2 separate regions of the Homo sapiens genome follow, and region 2 is linked to region 1. The links are contacts of gene promoters, found by promoter capture Hi-C in human tissues and cell types (Jung and others, 2019). All regions are on one chromosome and are shown on one strand. Each heading gives the region's core, a stretch centred on a gene start or on the middle of the fragment in contact. The rest is flanking DNA. Distances are from core to core; before and after follow the strand shown.

Region 1 (6,077 bases), core at 1,975-4,474:
CATGGGCCAGGCACAGTGGCTTATGCATGTAATCCCAACACTTTCGGAGAATCCCTTGAGGCTAGGAGTTTGAGACCAGCCTGGGCAACATAGAGAGATCTTGTCTACAAAAAAGAAAAGAAAAATTAGTTGGGCATGGTGGCATACACCTATAATTTCAGCACTTTGTGAGATGGTGGTGGGAGGATGCCTCGAGCCCAGGAGTTCAAGATCAGCCTGGGCAACATAACGGGATATTATATCTAAAAAAAAAAGAAAAAAAAAAGTTTTCATTAGCCAGGCATGATGGCACATACCTGTGGTCTCAGCTACTCAGGAGGCTGAAACAGGGGGATCACGTGAGCCTAGGAGTTTGAGGCTGAAGTAAGTTAGGAGTCCACCACTGCACTCTGGCCTGGGCAACAGAGCAAGACTCTATCTCTAAAAAACACAAAAATTAATAAAATAAAAAACAATAAATAAACAAGATTCAATGAGAGGAGACATAGACCCTATCTCCTAATAGGAAGAATGTCAAGATCATATTGTAAATCAAAAATAAAATTATAAGCCCCAGCTGAGAGAATGGACCCCCTGTCGGCCAAGGGGACCCCAAAGAAACCCAAAAAACTAGTTCAGGCCATGATGGGAAGTGGGAGGTCACACATGCCTCATCATAGCCTCCTCCCTTTAAGTTTCGGCACAGCTGACCAGCATTAACATTAACATAGAGATCCTCCTAAGACTGACAGAACACTTTTGTAGCAATCAGATACCCGATTCTAACATGACTCTGGTATAGCAACACACGACAGAGAGCAGGCCCTAAAGGAAATCAAAGTATTTTACCCCAAAATAAATTTTCTTTGACATATTTTGAAATGGACTTGCAAAGTCATCTCTTGTGGGGGAAACTTGCATTCTGTAGAGAATCTCCTTACTTACTAGCTCTTTTCCAGAGAGTCTGATACCTTTTAAGGTCCCCAGAGACATGCACATCTATTCTCTCTGAAGCCTGCTAACTGGAGGCTTCATCTATGTAACAAGAACCTTAGCTTCCACATCCCCATTGTCTTAACTCAAGCATTTCTTTCTGCCGACTCCAACTCTTCAGGTAAAGCTTAACTCTTTTAACCAATTGCCAATCAGGAAATCTTTGAATCCTCCTCTGACCTGGAAGCACCACCCACCCACTTCAAGATGTCCCACCTTTCTGGGCCAAACCAATGTATACTTTACATATATTGATTCATGTCTTTGCCTGTAACTTCTGTCCCCATAAAATGTATAAAGCTATAGCCCAACCACCTTGGGCACCTGTTCTCAGGACCTCCTGAGGCTGTGTCACAGGCCATGGTCACTCCTATTTGGCTTAGAATAAACGTTCTGAGATATTTTAGAGTGTGGCTTTTCTCGTCAACCAAATTCTACAAAGAGCTTGGGGGGTGGGTAATGTTGTGGAGCCCATCTTTGGCAGATACAGTCTGCCAAAGATTGTGACACTGCCTTATCGATAAACTCAGTGGCTTAACACAATTAAAGCTTATTTCTCCCTCTTGTCACAGCTCTTTGGGTTCCTCATGGTTCCATGTGGTTCTTCAGAGCCTCCATTGGTGGCTCTAACCTCCCTGAGGTCCTCGGAGTGCCCTCCACTGGAGCAGTGGGTGAGTAAGAGAGCAGGGCTCACCCACAGGAGGTTGTTAGGGGCCAGCCTGGAAGAGGAGCACAGTGCCCGCCCCCACCCATCCCATTGACTAGCACTTAGCCACGTGGCCGCACCTGGTTGCAGAGGCTGGAGAGTGGAGCCCAGCTGTGAGCCTGGCCGGTCATGGGGACATGTGTTAGTGAGTACTGTCCACGTCAGGCTCAGACCATCTGACCTGAGGCTATGGGGATGCAGGGGTCCCCAGGGGGTGGACAGGACAGAAGGAGGAGGGAGACCTGCTTGGAGAACCTGTTCTCAGTTTCCATTTGTTACATAATGGACAAGAGGACCAGCACTTTTGCTCAGAGCTGCAGCTCTGGTTCCGCTAGGAAATGCCAGGCAGGGGCACAGCCAAGTGGTTCTCAGACAGTAAACCCCAAGCCACAGACCCTTGCTTTCTTGGGCAGGGAGTAGTGGACAGGGCTGACTCCAGGCAACAGTCCCAAACAGGCTGCACCAATGTGACCGCACCTCCCCTGAGTGCAGGCAAGGGGTGCTGTGCTCACGCTCTCAGCCTGGGTGCATCCTTACTTTGTTCACAGCTCCTCTATCGGACCCATTTCACTGAGGCTCAGCGAGGTTACCTATGTCGCCCCAGGTCACCATCCAGTAACCCAGAAAGCTTCTCTTGGCTCCTCCACTAACTGCGTGATCTTGGACAAGTCAGTTACTGTCTCTGAAAGCCAGTTCTCCTCCTTAAAATGGAGACAGTTGAGCCAGGCATGCTGGTTTATGCCTGTAATCCCAGCACTTTGAGAGGCGGAGGCAGGAGGATCGCTTGAGCTCAGGAGTTTGGGACCAGCCTGGGCAACATAGTGAGGCCCCCATCTCTATAAATTTTTTTTTTAATTAGCTGGGTGTGGCAGTGTGCCCCTGTGGTCCCAGCTACTCAGGAGGCTGAGGTGGGAGGATCACTTGGGCCCGGGAGGTCAAGGCTGCAGTGAGCCCTGATCGCGCCACTGCACTCCGGCCTGGGAGACAGAGTGAGATCCTGTCCAAAAAAAAAAAAAGGAGACAGTCCCATAACAAGCCCCCCATGGCGCCGCCCAGATGGGGTTTCGACGCCAGGGAGAGGAGGGAAAGGGTTATCAGGGAAGGTTCCTGGTGGCAGAGCTCACAGGGTCCGTGCTGAGCCGAATTTTGCACGGTAGCCTCAGAGTCCCGGAGCCGAGTCCAGAGGGCGGGATGCAGGTATTGCGAAGAGGCACACGCTCCGAGAGGAACCACCAGAGCGTGGGCTTTGGGCGAGGAGGGGTCTCCTCTGGTTGGGGGAGATCTGGCAGGCTTGGGGGAGATGGGGCTGAAAGGATGGACAGGGAGGGAAGGCCAGAAAGCTGGAGACGGGGATGGAGAGCTAAACCGCAAAGAGCAGGCGCCCTGCCCCGCTGAGGGCCCCGCGCCTCCAGCTCCTCCTTCCCGAGCTTCCCGGGGTCGGCGTCCAGCCGGCAACCAATGGGCCCCGCCCCCGCCCGCAGCCAATGGGCCGCGTCCCCGCCCGCGCGGCCGCCCCGCCCCTCGCGGACCCGGAAGTGGGCCTGGCACCTTCCCGGCCTGCCGCAGGGATGGGGCAGCTGTGCTGGCTGCCGCTGCTGGCACCGCTCCTGTTGCTGCGACCGCCAGGGGTCCAGTCCGCCGGCCCCATCCGGGCCTTCGTGGTGCCCCACAGCCACATGGACGTGGGCTGGGTCTACACTGTGCAGGTAGGTGCCGACCACGCCCCGCGCGCCCCTGAGGCTGCAGCTTCCCTCTCCCCGCGGGATCTGAGTGTGGGTTTGCGTCCCGGGGCCCGATGCCGGCGCAGAAGGAGGCTCAGTGGGTTCAGGACCCCACGCTGCCATTGACTGGTTGCGTCGCTAACTTCGGGCCAGTCACTTCCTGCCTCTGAACCCCCATTTCCCCTTCTGGAGGGTGGTGCAGATTGGAGGGACCCCTGCATTCCCGGCTGGGGAGGGGCTTGGGGGTTGACAGTGGTAACCCATTTTCCAGGGAAGCCTGGAGCAGGAGAGGGTGGGGCTGGCTTCAGAGCAGGTGGATGTCAGGTGCCCGCTGGGAAGGGGCCGGGCTGGTCCCCTGCGGGGCTGAATATTGGAGGCCAGCTCAGCGTCCTCCGCCCCCCAGGACAGGGGTGAAGGTGGACCTGTGGTCACCTCCTGGTTCTGCTCAGGACCTTGGGCGAGGGGCTTTGGTCCCTAAGCCTCAGTTTCCCCATCTGTAAAGGGTAGGGGAAGCATGCCCACTACAGCCAGTTTCCAGAGGAGAAAACCGAGGCCCAGAGAGGGTTGCTGCCTTGCCCAAGGTCGCTCGGGAATAACCCTCATGCCTCCTGACTCCCTGCTCGGTGCTCCTTCCATTCATGTAAGCACTCTGTGGGCACCCTGTGTGCAGGGCCCTCGGGACTCGGATGGGAACACACTACAGCTGTGGTCCTTGGAGCTCCCAGCCTTGGGGAGGCAGACGCCTAGACGCCAGGGACAGCCTGGGGAGCTCTTCCTCTCAGCACCAGCTTTCCTCATTTCAGCCCCAGCAGGCCCCTTTGGGGTCACTGGACCACACCCCGACTGAGGCCTAAGACTTTCCTGTGCTGCCCCTCAATGGCACACTCAGGGCCCAGCCCCCCAAATTGCACACTCAAGGCCCAGCTTGCTCACCCCTCTGAGAAACTGTCCCTGACCCCTGGGCTGGGAGGGCACCTGTCTCTGCCCATGTAGGGTGTCTGTTTCCCCGTCCCTCTCCCCCAGGAGAGCACGATCCCATCCAGTGGGGAGAGCCTGGTATGGAGCGAGTGCCTAATAGCTGTGTGGGGGGTGAGCAGCAGGGAAGGAAGGGCAGAGCCCCCAACCCCATGCAGACACACCTGGCGAATGGCAGGGGCCCCAGGGACACTTGGTCTTGTTGGACCGGGGCTGGCATGATGCTGTCCCCTCCCCAGGAAAGCATGCGGGCGTACGCCGCCAATGTCTACACCTCAGTGGTGGAAGAGCTGGCCCGCGGCCAGCAGCGCCGGTTCATCGCTGTGGAGCAGGAGTTTTTCCGGCTGTGGTGGGATGGCGTCGCCTCGGACCAGCAGAAATACCAGGTAATGAGGTCACCAGGTGACACAGTTGGCCCAGTATCCTGGCAAAGACCCAGGTGGAAAACTCAATGGGGCAGTTCTAGCCAGGGCCAGGGCCAGGCTGGCATAAACCACAGGGCCAAAACCCCACCGGGCTATTCACAGCCTTGTTTAGATCAAGGTTCACGGTGAGTTCCATGCCTGGGAGAGATTGCTTTCAATTTAATCCTGAATTTCTGTCTATTCTTGAAAAAACTGCCAGCTCTGGCAACCCAGCTGTGCACTTCCGTGCCAGCTGGCACTAAGTCAGCAGTGCCCCCTGACACCAGGCATCCCAGGTGTCCCCAAGCCCTCACCCTCTTCTCTCATTTGTGTTATCTGCCTGGCCCCCGGGCCCAGGGTCTGGTGACCCTTGATGAGGGTGCGATAGTCCCTGTGGTTTGAGGGTAGGCAGCAGGTTGCTTCATACAGCATGGAGAGTCAGAGTCCCCGCTGCACAGTGAGGCAGCCTGGGTCCCATCCTGCTCCCGCACCAGGGGACACGACTAGCCCCTGCGAGCCACAGATTCCACTTCTATTAAACGGGGGTGACCGCCCCATTGCAGAAAAGTCATGCCAAGAATGAAGCCCTGGCGTGAGCACCCAGGACGATACTCGGGGGTTCTTAGTTTCCTCCCAGGTATCCACCTGCCTTCAGAATAGTTGCTGAACATAAAGTTCAGGGACGCCAAGTGACTTGCTCAAGGGAGTGAAGCGGAGAAGGGAGAGCAGGGCGTCCACCAGGCCCCGCCAGAGTCACGGGAAGGAGCCGGACATCCAATGGCCACTTGATGCTGCCAGATAGTGGGGTTCTTACCTCAAGTTAAAGAGACATTCCAGGTTCAGAGAGGGCACGCCACTGGCCTGCAGTCACACAGCTTGTAAGCGGCAGGTGGGATTCTGAGCCAGGCATGCCTGACTCGAGGCAGGCCTTTCCAGGATATCCTGTGAGCGTCCCATGCTTCTTCAGGTGGACCCCACCAAACCCAGTGGTCTGTCTCCTAGCCCTCAAAGAGAAGCATGGCCTGCATGGCCCAGTGAAGACCTGGACAGGAAACTTGTGGCAGAGCTCCCTGGAGGCAGGAATTGTTGCCTGCTTCATTCACTGCTGAACCCCCAGTGCCTGAACAGTGCTGGTTGTGTAGTAGGTGCTCACTTAACATTTGTTGAGTGAATGATCTACATATAGTGCACCTTAAGAAACAAACCAAAGGCACAGCCTATAAACAGCTGTGTGTACACATACTGAGGTGTGTAGTGTCTAGGGCAACAAAGGTGTTATGTGTGTAGAGACGGGGATGT
Region 2 (5,625 bases), core at 245-2,744, 140 kb before region 1:
CACTGAAAGCAGCCAGGACTATGTCCTTGATGGGATGGTGCTCATACCTGCACCTGCACTGTCCTGCCTGACCCCCATGAAACCCTAGGTATGAGCATCATGATTTTCCAGGAGGAAGCTGAGGCCCAGAGAGGCAAAGCAAGTTGCCTGAAGCCACACTGCCTGCACCAGACATCCAGCTCCAGAGTCCATGTCTTCTCTGATCCACCTGACTGCCTGGTATCAGCGAGAAGCCAAAGGGGACTGAGAGGTCCAAGAGGAGAGAAATGACTTCCCTACGTGACTCCCCCACTCCAGAGTGCTGGGGAGAAGTGGTTTACAAAGTCTCCGTGAAGAAAGCCTCAGACCCTCAGAGGAGAGTGCACGCCTCCTCGGTGCACGAGGGGAAACATGTTGAAATGTTCATTTAGCAGAATCAGGCCAACTTTGTAATCCTATCCACTCCTCCTTTCAACAGCTTTGCAGATCCAGCCGGGCACGGTGGCTCACACCTGTAATCCTAGCACTTTGGGGGGCCAAGGCGGGTGGATCACATGAGGTCAGGAGTTCCAGACCAGCCTGGCCAACATGGTGAAACACCGCCTCCACTAAAAACACAAAAATTAGCCAGTTGTGGTGGTAGGCACCTGTAATCCCAGCTACTTGTGAGGCTGAGGCAGGAGAATCACTTGAACCCAGGAGGCGGAGGTTGCAGTGAGCCAAGATCGCACCACTGCACTCCAGCCTGGGCGACAGAGCAAGACTCTGTCTCAAAAAAACAACAACAACAACAAAAAAAAAACTTTGCAGATCCCTGATCCTGTTTGTTGGAAGATGTTTATCAGTGGCTTCCATAGCCCTGGGACACTGCCATCTGCCTCTTCCGGCAGCCCACTTTTGGGGTTGGGGTTACTAGGGAGATTCTGGATGACAGAGATGGTTCTGCCTGCAAGCCCAAGGATCAGTATAACTGAGCAAGGGGACGAGCCGCCTGAGGAGGGGAAGGTGTGAAAGCCACCAGGGTGTGCAGGTCCGTGTTTCCCTGCACCTGGAGGGAGAGAGGTTCTGGAAGGCAGCCCCTGCCAGCTTCCATGGTATAAATACCCCTGCCCTGGCCAATTTCAAACTACCAACAAGATGTCTGCTGGCTCTCCAAACTGAAAATTAAGCAATCAACCTCAAAAGCTAATATGAGGGGCTCCAGAACACCATGGAGGGGCCCTGCTCCCAGGACAAAATCAGGGGCAGGCCCCAGGTTTCCAGGACCCTCCTTGGAGAAAGCTGCTCAGGCTGAGACTACGGTCCCCAGAAGTCTGGAGAGCCCAGAGTTCAGGCTGGCAGTCACCCTGGTTACTTTGTGACCCATCCCCAGCCACGTCTGTGTCCCCAAGGGGCTAAGTCCAAAGCTGTGGAGGGGACATGGTTTCGGTCCAGAGCCCCCCCTTCCCTGGCTCCTCTGTGCTTGAGCCCCTCCTACTTGTATCTGGACCTCCCCTGGGTACACTTCCTTGATAAACCACTTATACTCTAGTCCACACCTCGGGGCCTGCCTCTGGGGAGCCTGGACAAGAGACCCTGGACCTCTAAGACCCCAACCCTGCCTCTGATACCCTTCCCAGTGGTATGGCCTCAGTGGGTGGAGGATGGGCCGTGGACTTAGTCATTTGGGGCTGCTCCCACAGAATACTACAGACTCGGGGGGCTTATAACAACAGCCATTTACATCTCACAGTTCTAGAGGCTGGGAAGTCCAAGATCGAGGTGTAGAAGCTTCAGTGTCTGGGGAGGGCCTCTTCATAGTTCATAGATGGCCATCTTCTCACTGTGGGGTCCCTTTATAAAGCCACTGATCCCATAAATGAGGGCTCCATCTTCATGACCTGACCACCTCCCAAAGGCCCCACCTCTTAACGCATCACCTTAAGGCTTAATTTCAATATACGAATTTGGGAGAAACCAGACCTTCAGATGACAGCAGTAGGCTTTGATGAGCGCCTCTCTGGCTACTCAGTCCCTCCCCATCCTCATGGCTATGGTCTTTGCCCAGTAAGTGGCTTCTGCTTCCTACCTGTCCCCACCCTCCCTTGCCTCTCCTGAGCCATGTTCACCTGCTGCCCAAGTGACCTTTCTGAGAAACAAGTCGGAGGAGGCCACAGCTCTGCCTTCTGGGGCTCACAGTGGACTGAAGGCCCCTCGACTGATTCAGCAGACATCTCTGAGCCCCAGGGATGAAACAAGTGTTGTACCCACATCCTCAGTAGGTGTCCAAGGACCGTCGGGACCCAGCGCCTGCTGCCTCGTTTCCCCCTCTCCCCTCTACTCCAGCACCTTCAACAACCTGGAATTCCCTGAACACACACCAGCTTCACTGTCATCTCCCAAATCCCAAAGGGTGGGCCCAGTATTTCAGGATAGAGGATTTGGACTGTACAGTAATATGGTGCACAGGTCACCTAGGACATCTGTCACCCCCAAGGGCTTCTGGGACAACACGCATACGCATTTCTATTTCTGTACATAACATATGAAACTTCACACTACAGGGATAGAGAAGGGCTATAAATGGTTTCACATCAATTTAGGTTGGGTTTCACTGCCAAATAAGTTAGGAAAAAATCTTTAGGCTTTCAGAGCCTCTTGGATTTTAGAATACAGTTGACCCTCAAACATGAGCTGAGCTGTGAGGGTCACTTATACATGATTTTCTTTCGCCTCTGCTACCCCTGAGACTGCAAGACCAACCCGTCCTCTTCCTTCTCCTCAGCCTACTCAACATGAAGACAACGAGGATAAAGATTATAGTGATCCCCTTCCACTTAATGAACAGAAAATATATTTCCTCTTCCTTATGATTTTCTTAATGATGTTTTCTTTCCTCTAGCTTACTTTATTAGAATACAGTATATAATACATATAACATACAAAATGTATGTTTATCAACTGTTCATGTTTTTGGAAGTCCAATCAAGAGGAGGCTATTAGTTAAGTTTTTGGGGAGTCAAAAGTTGTATGTGGGTTTTTGACTGTGCAGGGGGTTGGCTCCCCCAACCCCGTGTTGTTCGAGGGTCTGCTCTGTTGCTGAATGGCTCTCTGTGCACAGCTGAAGGCTTCCCTGCTATTTACCTAGAAGGGGAACAGAGGGGCTGCTTGGACATATCTGGATATTGGCAAATGACTTTGCAAATGGTTTGCTTTCATATCCATTTCCAGTGGTGGCATGAGTTTCCATTTCTCCAGCCCCGCCCTACACTTGGTATTGTAAGACATCAACAGTTTTGCAGATCTAAGTAGCGTCGCCTGAAACGGTGCCGCCAAGTTTTCCCATCATTCTGTAAGACCCAGCAGCATCACTTCCCCTGGGCAGCTTCCCTGAAGCCCCAGGCTAAGGCCCCCTCCCTGTGCCCTTTACTGCCTGGCTGTGGCTGTTCTGTGGCCAAGTCATCCCCCCCATTGGGCCAATAGGCATACGGGTTCCAAATCCAGACCCTGGGTTCAACTATACATGCAGTCACTATAATAGCTAATTTGACTGTATTTTTTTGTGCCAGGTTCTGTCCTCATTCTTTCCCTTGAATTGACTCAGTTCATCCTCAACAACTTATGAAACAGGCACCATTGTTACATCCATCTGACAACTCTGAGACCCACAGAGGTGAAGTAACTTGTCCAAGGTCACACAGCGAGTAGGCAGCCCAGTCAGGGTTCGAACTCGAACAGCTGACTCTAGAGCTTATGGTCACAACCTAAGCTGTGCAGCCTTTGGTTAAGAAATGAGTATAAAATGCAAAGGGCACAAAAAAGCTAACAGTGAAAATAAGTCTCCCTTAGGCCCTTCTCCCACTCACTCAGCTCTCCTGTCTAGTGGCAACCACTATGAGCACTTTCAGGTGCATCATCCTACCAGAAGGAGTCTACACACAAGCAGTCATAAGATACCATGTTTTAATCATAAAGCATGTCATGGATCATCCACTATTTTGCACCTTGCTCATTTCACCTAAAGAATCTTAAACATCATTCTACATCAGCGCACCCTGAGCTGTCACGTTCTTTTCATTGCTATCCACTATCACGCTCTGGAATAATTTATGTAAACAGTCCCCTGTGATGGCCATTACAGATATTTCCATTCTTTCCCATTACCAACAATGCTATGACAAATGTGGATAAATGTCATTTCTCACCTGCGTATTTCTTTTTTCTTTTCTTTTTTTTTTTTTTTTGGAGACAGAGTCTCACACTGTCACCCAGGCTAGAGTGCAGTGGCGTGATCTCGGCTCACTGCAACTTCCACCTCCTGGGTTCAAGCGATTCTCGTGCCTCAGCCTCCCAAGTACCTAAAATTACAGGCATGCACCACCACGCCTGGCTAATTTTTGTAGTTTTAGTAGAGATGGGGTTTCGTGATGCTGGCCAGTCTGGTGTCAAACTCCTCACCTCAAGTGATCTGCCAATCTCGGCCTCCCAAAGTGCTGGGATTACAGGCATGAGCCACCACACCTGGCCTCTTACTTGTGTACTTCCATCAGACAAGGATTAGAAGTGAAATCCATAGCCATGTTTCTGAGAGTTCTTGTTTCCCTCATACCTGCACCATCATGGTAATATCAGCTATTTTAGTCCTTGCCTATACGATAGATAAAAAAACAGTATCTTAACTTGGAGTTTTCTTATTATGAGTGAGGTTGAGTTTTTATGTGTTTAAAAGATATTTCTATTTCCTTTTATGTAAACCATCTCCTCATCACATCCTTTATCCATTCTTCTATTGAATTTTTTTGGGGGTTCTTGATTTATGAGGAAATTAGTACTTCTCTATGTCTTTCTGTTGACCTCACCATATCAATATTTTCTCAGCCACTCACTGTATTTCCTTTCAGTCCATAAATTCAAATCTTATTTTTAGAAAGTTCTGGAATTGTGCCTTAAATTTTTTTTATTTAATTATTTTCATTCTTATCTCCAGGGACACCAATTATGTGTATGTTGGATCCCCTTATCTGTCCTCTGCATCATGTTCTAATATTTCTCTCTCTCTCTTTACATTAATTTATCTTGCTTTTCCCAATCTCATCTTCCATATCTCTTACTGTGTTTTCTGTGTTCCCTGTCATAATCATTCCATTGCATACTTCACTTTTTAGATGGGTTTATTTGTTAATCTATCTACTTTGTGGAGCTCATCATATCAGGTTTCACTCTCTTCTGTCATGTTACCACCTCTCCTGAGTTCTTGTATCTCAACTTTATACTCTTGTTTAGAGGTGTGATTGCTCAATTATTTTTTTCCTTAGTCCAAGGCATTATGTACAGTTGATATTTTCATCTGATTTATGGCAAATGTTTTCTTGCGCATATTTTTCATCTGTTACTTTCTTCATTTTTGGAGGATCTTGAGATAGAGCTTGCACTGGTCCTTACTAATTATTACTCATCTCTGAATGTGATGAGTTCTTCCTGAACCATCTATTTATACAAGATTCGTGCACCAGAGTGTCCAAAAGAGTAATCTAGTTCTTAGAAAACAGGCTTGTGAGTGAGAGTCAGTTCTTTTGGCCTTTACTTCTTTCTTGTTAAGATCAGATGCCACAGGCTGGCACATAACACAGCCCCTTTTCTCCACTTTGCCTCTCTAGTAGACTGCTT

The links. The method cuts DNA at HindIII sites, captures the fragments that hold promoters and counts their contacts. A contact is called where the count stands out against the background at its distance.
Region 2: a contact is called between a fragment that was not itself captured here and the fragment with the promoter of MAN2B2 in region 1, in 2 of the 25 tissues and cell types used here (dorsolateral prefrontal cortex and mesendoderm cells).

Annotation. Positions count from the first base shown.
Region 1 is chr4:6,571,965-6,578,041 of GRCh38, forward strand. It overlaps MAN2B2 (mannosidase alpha class 2B member 2), which reads left to right and starts at 3,225. Exons shown (of 19, transcript NM_015274.3): 1 at 3,225-3,384; 2 at 4,614-4,760. The coding sequence starts at 3,247. LOC105374365 (a long non-coding RNA gene) reads left to right here. Exons shown (of 3, transcript XR_925098.3): 2 at 1,545-1,643; 3 at 2,227-2,374. RefSeq lists enhancers at 1,421-2,189, 2,190-2,957, 2,958-3,726 and a silencer at 3,015-3,474. The HindIII fragment of the contact is 15,458 bases long and covers 1,914-6,077 here.
Region 2 is chr4:6,430,174-6,435,798 of GRCh38, forward strand. The region is part of intron 1 of PPP2R2C (protein phosphatase 2 regulatory subunit Bgamma); the gene reads right to left. Among named protein-coding and RNA genes, the nearest start is that of PPP2R2C, 40 kb to the right of the region's middle. The HindIII fragment of the contact is 5,863 bases long and covers 1-4,426 here.